Regions from separate parts of the Homo sapiens genome. Here region 2 is linked to region 1. The links are contacts of gene promoters, found by promoter capture Hi-C in human tissues and cell types (Jung and others, 2019). All regions are on one chromosome and are shown on one strand. The core of a region is centred on a gene start or on the middle of the fragment in contact, and the rest is flanking DNA. Distances in the headings are between cores, read along the strand shown. Region 1 holds the start of OSBP2 (oxysterol binding protein 2). Region 2 overlaps OSBP2 (oxysterol binding protein 2).

The links. Contacts are between HindIII fragments. The study calls those that stand out against the background at their distance.
Region 2: a contact is called between a fragment that was not itself captured here and the fragment with the promoter of OSBP2 in region 1, in 1 of the 25 tissues and cell types used here (pancreas).

Annotation. Positions count from the first base shown.
Region 1 is chr22:30,692,619-30,697,239 of GRCh38, forward strand. OSBP2 (oxysterol binding protein 2) reads left to right here and starts at 2,256. Exons shown (of 14, transcript NM_030758.4): 1 at 2,256-2,935. The coding sequence starts at 2,292. RefSeq lists silencers at 1,929-2,008, 2,393-2,442. The HindIII fragment of the contact is 4,458 bases long and covers 1-4,438 here.
Region 2 is chr22:30,730,295-30,734,915 of GRCh38, forward strand. The region is part of intron 1 of OSBP2 (oxysterol binding protein 2); the gene reads left to right. It overlaps MIR3200 (microRNA 3200), which reads left to right and starts at 1,263; the gene lies at 1,263-1,347. The HindIII fragment of the contact is 9,479 bases long and covers 1-4,621 here.

The sequences.
Region 1 (4,621 bases), core at 1,006-3,505:
AAAGAAAAAGAAAAAAAAAAAAAAAGCATGTTCTTGGATTCCACCTCTGACTTACTGGGGATGGAGAAGTGAATTTCTTTTTCTTTTTTTTACTAAGATGGAGTCTCTCACTGTCGCCCGTGCTGGAGTGCAATGTTGCGATCTCGGCTCACTGCAACCTCTGCCTCCTGGGTTCACGCAATTCTCTTGCCTTGGCCTCCCGAGTAGCTGGGATTACAGGCACACACCACCACACCCGGCTAATTTTTTTAATTTTTAGTAGAGACAGGGTTTCATTATGTTGGCCAGACTGGTCTCCTGACCTCGTGATCTGCCTGCCTCGGCCTCCCAAGGTGCTGGGATTACAGGCATGAGCCACCGTGCCCAGCTCTGGAAAAGTGTGTTTCTAATAAACCTCCCTGGGGTGATTTTAACAATTATCATCATTATTTTGAATCGGTGAAACATACACACAGTGAAACATACACAGTAAAACATACAAAAGGTTCAAAGTGTGAGTGAAAAGCAAGCATTCCACCTCATTTCTCAGTTGTCCAGTTCTGTCCCCCACTACACCCCAGAGGCAATCACTTTTCCTTGGGGGGACTCACCATGCTGAAGTTTGAGGGTCACCGTCATACATATGAGATAGACCAAGATGGGGGGCTCTCTGCACTCCAGAGCTCACAGCAAAATTGCAGGTAAGACCACCATTCAAAGACAAGTGCCTGAGGAAGGGGTCTCAAAGTCACCAGCAAAGATGCCAGCGGCTCCTGCTCAGTGCATGTCTGCACCTCCTATTTCTAGGACCTTCCAATCTGCTTCCTTCTGGGGACCACTTCACGTAGGAAGCAGTCCCTACACAGGTTATCTTGTCACAAGCAAAGATCAGGAATGGATAGGTGGGTAAGGGGAGAGTAAGACGTGATGGTGAGCTAAGAGGAGTCTGCAGAGAGGTCTAAGCTTGAAAAGTCTGGACAGAAACCCAATGTTCAGTCTTTCCATTTGTATTTCTGATTATTTGTAGTAACCATCAACTTTCGTCATTTGGATAGATTCTTAAGAAAAAAAAAAAATCACTGATGGCTGGGCACAGTGGCTCACGCCTGTAATCCTAGCACTTTGGGAGGCCGAGGCGGGAGGATCCTGGCCTGAGGTCAGGAGTTCAAGACCAGCCTGACCAACATGGTGAAACCCCGTTTCTACTAAAAATACAAAATTTAGCTGGGCATGGTGCGGGCCGTGGAATTCCAGCTACTAGGGAGGCCAAGGCAGGAGAATCGCTTGAACCTGGGAAGCGGAGGCTGCAGTGAACCAAGATCACGCCACTGCATTCCAGCCTGGGCTACCGAGTGAGACTCAGTCTCAAAAAGGAAAAAAAAAAAAAGCGGAAAAAAAAATTCGCTGATGTTTTAACCATTCTGGGGTCACAGCCTCCTTTGTTATGGACCTACTCTGGAAAAATGCACAGACAGGTAAACCTCTGCGGAAGCCTCACAGACTGCCAGCCTACCCAGGGATCCCGGGAGGTCCAAGTTCAGAATCCCACTTTGAGATGTTTCTTGTACTAAAACGCTTGGTTTACAAAAAGTCTTCCCCTATTTGTTTAGAGAACCCGAACGATGTCGTCACTGGCAGCGAAGCGCCTTGGCATGAACCGTAGGCCAGCTGGCTCAGGAGGTGGAGGCGGTGAGGCGGCCACTTGGGGCCACCGCTTCTGGCGGCCGCAGGAGCGACCCACAGACAGGTAATGGCTGCCATGGGGGGCGGGGCGTCGTCTTTAGCCTTTAGCGCCCCTGTGCTTCGTGCGCATTTCGTGGCCTCTGGGTGCCGTACCTGCTTCCCACCCGGCTTTCCTGGGTGGCGGAGAGCGAACCCACCCCAGCCTGGGTTGGGGGAGGGGGCGTCGGCGCAGGGTCCCGTGGGCAGAGCTGCGCTGGGAGCTGGCGGGCTCCGCATTCATCATTGTTCCTCCAGCGCCTGGCACGGCTGGGCCGAAGCAGAGACCGTGGCCTGAAGCGCGCCATCCCCTTCGGAGTTGACCGACCACCAAGCTCTTCCGCCCACAGGTGTTGTCAGAGCTCCTTCCACCGGCCGGACCTAGGAAGGACCCAGGGTCCAAACATGGCCCGAGGCTGGCCGAGAGCACAACAGCCGGCGGGCGCTGACGGGCACGGAGCGCACGGGACCGCGGAGGAACCCGCGCGCGCCCCCGCCTCGCGCCGCGCGCACGTGACTGCGCCCCCGGCCCCGCCCCCGGCCTGCCCCCCGCCCCCACTGGCCGCTCGGCCGCGCGCGGGTCGGCCGGCTCTATGGGGAAAGCGGCGGCTCCGAGCCGAGGCGGCGGCTGTGGCGGCCGCTCCCGCGGGCTCTCGTCGCTGTTCACGGTTGTCCCCTGCCTGTCGTGCCACACGGCGGCGCCGGGCATGAGCGCTTCCACGTCCGGCTCCGGGCCGGAGCCCAAGCCCCAGCCCCAGCCCGTGCCCGAACCGGAGCGGGGACCGCTGTCAGAACAGGTGTCGGAGGCAGTTTCGGAGGCAGTGCCAAGATCGGAACCTGTGTCCGAGACGACGTCTGAGCCGGAGCCAGGGGCTGGGCAGCCATCGGAACTGCTGCAGGGGTCGCGGCCGGGGTCAGAGTCAAGCTCAGGTGTAGGGGCTGGGCCCTTCACTAAGGCCGCATCGGAGCCGCTCTCCCGGGCGGTGGGGAGCGCGACCTTTCTCAGACCCGAGTCAGGATCGCTGCCAGCGTTAAAGCCCCTGCCTCTTCTGCGACCAGGACAGGCGAAGACTCCTCTTGGGGTTCCAATGTCGGGGACTGGCACGACCTCCAGTGCCCCACTGGCCTTACTGCCTCTGGACAGCTTCGAGGGCTGGCTTCTCAAGTGGACCAACTATCTGAAGGGCTACCAGCGCCGCTGGTTCGTGCTGGGCAATGGTTTGCTCTCTTACTACAGGTATGGAAGCGCCAGGGTGGGACATGGGGGTTGGAGGGTGGTGATGCTGCAGGGATGGTGATGGAGGGCCTCCATGGTTGGCGGACACTGCCACTAGTCTAGAGATGTTTAGGGGCATGCATTCCAGCAGGCCAAGTCACGCTTCTGGCCCGCCGCCAAGGGCCGGGGGCCCTGACCTCTGGCAAGGGTGAATGTGATCTGCGGACATGACCTCTGGCAAGCTTGGGTTTTTGGGCAAGTGGGGAGGTGGAGTAAGGGAGTGATCTGGGGCCTCAGTTCCCTTCTGCTTGGCAGTTGTGGGGCTTGGGGCAGCTAGCTAGAGTCAGCCCCTCAAAGTCCTTGCCCTTTCTGGTTCGGGAGCTAACATCATTGTGTGTTTGGGATTGAGGGAGAGAGTCACCTTGTTCAGTCCTTAGGACCCACACTCTTAGGAAGGGCTGCTTATTCTTCCCGCCTGGGGCAGTTACTCCCACCTTTCCTGATGCCTCTGGTTGCCAGGCCTTGGGCTGGGCACCACAGACTCACAGATGTATTGGACACGGTTCTTGGCCTTCAGGAGTCCATCTTGGCATTTTGCGGAGAGCTAGGAAGTGTTTTGCTGCCCTCCTTTCTTATTCCAGACCCAGCACGGGATTCAAAATTAAAGTCCAGTGGTGAGAGAGCTAACACTGTCTTCCCACTGAAACTGGTTGAAAGGAGGTTACTGAAGCCTCCCTTTGCTTTCTTACTGGCTCTTCCCTGGGTCTGCTTCCTGGGGATGGTTGGTTTAAGCCTTGAGAACTCAGATCAGTCTATGCCAGTGGTTCTCAAACCTGAGTGTGCATCAGCATTCCCTGAAGAGCTTGTTGGAACACAAAGTGCTGGGCCTCCCCAATGAATTTCTGTTACAGTGGGCCTAGGGGAAGGGCCTGAGATTCGGATTTTCTAATAACTTCCCAGGCGTGGCTGGTGATGCTGGTCCAGGACCACACTCTGAGAAGCACTGTTTCATTGCTGCACACAAAAGGACCTTGACTTGCTGTTGCTGAAATTCAGGTCACTTCACTCACTTCATTCAGCCAACAGTATCCCTTCAAGTCACCCACTACAGGGTTTTGTTTTTTGTTGTTTTTGTTTTTGAGACGGAGTATTGCTCTGTCGCCCAGGCTGGAGTGCAGTGGTGCAATCTTGGCTCACTGCAACCTCCGCCCCCCAGGTTCAAGCAATTCTTCTGCCTCAGCCTCCTGAGTAGTTGGGATTACAGGCGCCCGTCACCATGCCCGGCTAATTTTTTTTTTGTATTTTTAGTAGAGATGGGGTTTCACCATGTTGCCCAGGCTGGTTTCGAACTCCTGACCTCAGGTGATTCGCCTGCCTCGGCCTCCCAAAGTGTTAGGATTACAGGCATGAGCCACCACACCGGCCTCTCCTGTCTTACAAATGAGGAGTTCTGAGGTTTGATGGGGAGACACAGAGCCCATTATCCAAAGGCACTGGCCCAGTAGACGGTAGAGAGGGATTCTGAACACCAACATCTGGACCTGTCCCAAATGTGTCCTGATACCCACTCACCTTTGAGTTCAGCATGTCTGTGTTACCTGTATTTACCAGGTACTACTAAACTGAAGAGTTAAAGGTAATGTTTATAAGTATAGTCTCCCACAGTGGCAGAAATGCCTGGTTTTAGTGGAAGTAAAACCTGATATC
Region 2 (4,621 bases), core at 1,414-3,913, 38 kb after region 1:
GTATAAAAGTATAACATACATGCAGAAAAACTGGTCAATTACGAGGATGTAGCTAGTGAATTTTCATGGAGTGAGCACCTCCCTTATTTTGAATTTATTTCCCCCCACTTATTGTTAACAAACAGTGGCTTGTCATTTACAGGCCTGTGTCCTTCCCAAGCTAGACCATTGAGGCCAGAAAGATGTGTCGTATTTATTTTTGTATCTACTCCCTCCCCAGTTTCTAGCACAGTTCCTTTATATAGTAGCCCACAGGAAGTGCTTGCTGAATTAGAATGCAGAAGGTTGGATGGGAATTTCACAGTGAATCAGGGTCACCTTGAGCTTGCATTGAATGGAAGTTCCATATAAGACTAAGTACTTTGCTCCAGAGTGGTAGCTTTTGGTCTTTCTGTGCATCTGGATTCAGATTCGCTGCCCTGTCTCTCTCTCTCTCTCTCTCTCTCTCTCTCTCTCTCTCTCTCTCTCTCTCTCTCTCTCTATATATATATATATATATATATATATATATATAATTTTTTTTTTTTTTCCCATGGACATTTTTGGGGAAGGGCTTCTGGAAAACATAGCCCAAGGCAGGGATTAAAGAGCTAATGCTGGCCGGGCGCGGTGCCTCACGCCTGTAATCCCAGCACTTTGGGTGGCCGAGGCAGGTGGATCACGAGGTCAGGAGATCGAGACCATCCTGACTAACACTGTGAAACCCTGTCTTTACTAAAGATGCAAAAAATTAGCCAGGCGTGGTGGCGGGCGCCTATAGTCCCAGCTACTCGGGAGGCTGAGGGAGGAGAATCGCTTGAACCCAGGAGGTGGAGGTTGCAGTGAGCCGAGATCGCGCCACTGCACTCCAGCCTGGGCGGCAGAGTGAGACTCCATCTCAAATAAATAAATAAATAAATGAAAAATAAAGAGCTGACACTTTGGGAGGTGCAATCCCAGGGCAGTGAAGGAGCAATGGCAAGTGGCAGAGGAGAGATCAAAGTGACCACCCAGCTCATTCCCTTGCTGGATGAGACTTCACAGCGAGCTACAGAGACACGGTGGGTCGCTCAGCAAGCATGCTTGCCTGGCACATGGACTTTTCCAGAACTTACACAAGAAGAAAATACACCTCAGAGCCATCCGTGGAGGGAAGAGTGGGGGGAGATTCATCTGACCTGTTCTTTTCATATCCTATTTTCCACGGTGGCATTTCATACAAGCCCAGAAGTGGAGGTACGGCGTGACCTGGATGAGGCATCATCGAGAGAGACAAAGAAGGAGGTGGTCGAGGGAATCTGAGAAGGCGCACAAGGTTTGTGTCCAATACAGTCCACACCTTGCGCTACTCAGGTCTGCTCGTGCCCTCCCATGATATCAGCTCTCCTACTTCAATGTGGGAATCTCCGTTTTCCTTGGAGAACAAAAACATCCTCATTCCTTCCCTGAGCAGGAAGGTACAAATCCCATCAGTGACAGAAGCCATTTCCTGGTGCTGGCCCACTGGGGTTACCAGGAAGAATAAAGCAAGAAGGTTGTGAAACAAGGTCATCTGCTGCTGCTGTGGCCGGTCCTGGTGTGCTCATTGTTACTCATCATTTCCCTCCTGCACTACCCACCCTAGACCCTCTCCACTCTCCGCCAGCACTCTGGCTGGTCTGTGATGTTTGCGCTGAGTGGTCTGCATGTGTTGTTGGCCTTGCTCATTATCAGCCGTTACCAATCATGGAAATGTTAAGAGATACCGGTGCTAGGCACAGTGGCTCATGCCTGTAATCCCAGCACTTTGGGAGGCCAAGGTGGAAAGATCACCTGAGGTCAGGGGTTCAAGACCAGCCTCACTAACATGGTGAAACCCCATCTCTACTAAAAATACAAAAATTAGCTGGGCGTGGTGACGGGTGCCTATAGTCCCAGCTACTCGGGAGGCTGAGACAGGAGAATCACTTGAACCTGGGAGGCGGAGGTTGCAGAAAGCCGAGATAGCGCCATTGCACTCCAGCCTGGGCAACAAGAGTGAAACTCTGTCTCAAAAAATAAATAAATAAATAAAAATAAGAGATATCCCAAGGAGTCCTCTGGGTTTTATTCCAGACATTCTCCTCCCATTTCCAAATGGGCCACTCACCTAATTCCTCATGGCAATTAGGATCAGTGACCCCTGGCGGTAGAGTCACTCCCCTGGCAGTAGAGTCACTCCCCTGGCAGTAGAGTCACTCCCCTCTTTGTTGGTCACTGGCATGAGGAGCCGTAGGTGGCCAAGTGGTTGTGGCAGTGTCCAGATCAGTGGAATCTTTGTTTCACATTCCTCCCTTACCCCAGGACTAGATCCTCTAACCCAGCTGATCCCAAGTGTGTGAGGATGGGAAGCACACACCTTGCAAAGGGCAACCATGCGTGATGGTGAGCAGGGCCACTCCTGGACCTGTCTGCTGTAGCTGTGGGGGACATGGCACCAGATATCAGTTGTCAGCTCAAGGCATCCTGGAGGACAGAGGCTCAAACCTGAGGGGTATTTCTCCCTCGGTGTCCCCGCTAAGCCAGTAGGCCATTCCATTGTTTTGTCAGGCTCGCTGCCCCCTAGTGCAGCTGGGTTCCTGTGATTCCAGTGAATTTATGGCCAGGAGTCACTGGCACAGCTGCTAGGCTGAAATGGGCCACTTTGTATAAGGCTGTATCGAATGGAAGTCCAGGCCAGCACACGAGGCATTCAGTAACTTTGGACCATGGTGCTGCTGGAGGCACTACAGGCAGGGAAGGCAACCTCATTACCAAAAAGCACTTCCGTTTCATGAAGGATAAATTGTGTATCCCTCCAAGGTGGAAGGGGTCTGATATAGTTAGTGGCTGTCTGGCTCTTCCCAAGGATGGGCCATATCAAGGAGGGTTCCGTGTTGGTTTCTACTGCTGGTAGATCGGGCACTCAGTGGAGCCGCGAGATGAGCCTTGGTGCTGGGGAGGCAAAAGAGGAAGGAAAGCAAGGGGAGGATGCAAAGTAACATGAGGCTTCAAGACCTCGCCACTGCTTTGCAGCAAACTGTAAGGCTCACAGAGGCCACTCATGTTCTCTGGGCTCATGGACTTCTCTGGAAGGTTTGCAAAGATACCTTGGAGAGATCTGCAGGGGGGATAAATGAAGAGCATTTCCTGGCCTGGTTTCCATCCACTTCCCATTTCCCACTGCTCATTGTTTAACCTGTGAGTCACTAACCCTTCCATACTGTGGGTTGCAAAAATCCAGCTTGTCGGTGACCACTCAGGAAACCAGATTGCATACTCTGAGATGCAGTACTACTCCCAAGCCCAAAAATGCAGGGGCGACTTGGCTTAAATGGAGGAGAGAGAGAGGGGACGGAGGAGGTGCACCATTCTTAGTTGATGTACAAGGTTTGGGTCCAATACAACTATGTAAGTCGCTAACCATAGATGGTCTCCATGGCCTAAAAAGCAATGCATTAACTACTACAGGCTTCCAAGTTCTGATTGCTGGAATCCTTGACAGAGGTGAGAGTGTGACTGGGGTCATTGCGAGTATTATTTTGTTGAGAATCGGTGTAGTTAACTTAGTGGGATGTTGGTTGTGGTAAATTCTCTTGCAGTTAAATTGTACTGCAGATGTTTAGTATTTTGTTTATATTTGTTCTAAATCAGATATCAAAGTAATGCCTCAAAACATGTCTCCTTAAAAGTGGCAGAAAATACATTATCATTTTTTTTTTGAGACGGAGTTTAGCTCTGTCACCCAGGCTAGAGTGCAGTGGTGTGATCTCCATTCACTGCAACCATCACCTCTTGGGTTCAAACGACTCTCCTGCCTCAGCCTCCTGAGTAGCTGGGATTACAGACATGCACCACCAGGCCCATTTAATTTTTGTATTTTTAGTAGAGACGGGGTTTCACCATGTTGGCCAGGCTGGTCTCGAACTCCTGGCCTCAAGTGATCTGCCTGCCTCAGTGCTGGGATTATAGGCATGAGCCATCATGCCTGGCCACATTATCATGTATTTTGGATATGAGCCCTGATGAAACTGGGAGGCCTTAGATCATGGCTGGTAGTGAGGCCACTGAAGCTGCTTAGGGCTCAGTGAGACCAGATGGTTCTGGAATATTGCACACCTCCATAGCCTCTTGCGGGAGAGGAGTTACCACTGCAGCTTGCAGGGCCCAGGTCTATAGTGTACTGTGAGCAGGGCTTTAACTTTGCCACTGTCTGGACTATTGGACTTCCCTGGAAGCTTAACCTTCATAGAGAGGGTTACCTCAGCCAGGACTCACAGTGGGAGAAACAAAATCATTTATTTACAACATGAGCAGGTGCACTACTCCTAAACAACAATCTGGATTTTAGGATACATCCCTAAATTTTAGACCCTTTCAGGACTGAGTTTGAAGCCATTGAAAAATTTTTAAAACTGAATAAAAAAGGTAAAAATAATACCTTGGCTACAGGTTAAAAATGGATTGAACATAAAATATCTAAATGAAAGAGAAGAGCAGAGCTAAATTCTAAGACTAGCAAATGTATCAGATCTTGATAATTTTAAGGGTTGTTAGCCCCCACATTTATATATTTCACTGTATAATTCCTTCCAAATAATGTAGAAAGATAAAACTGAAAAGTTAAAGTAAGAGGCTGGGTGTG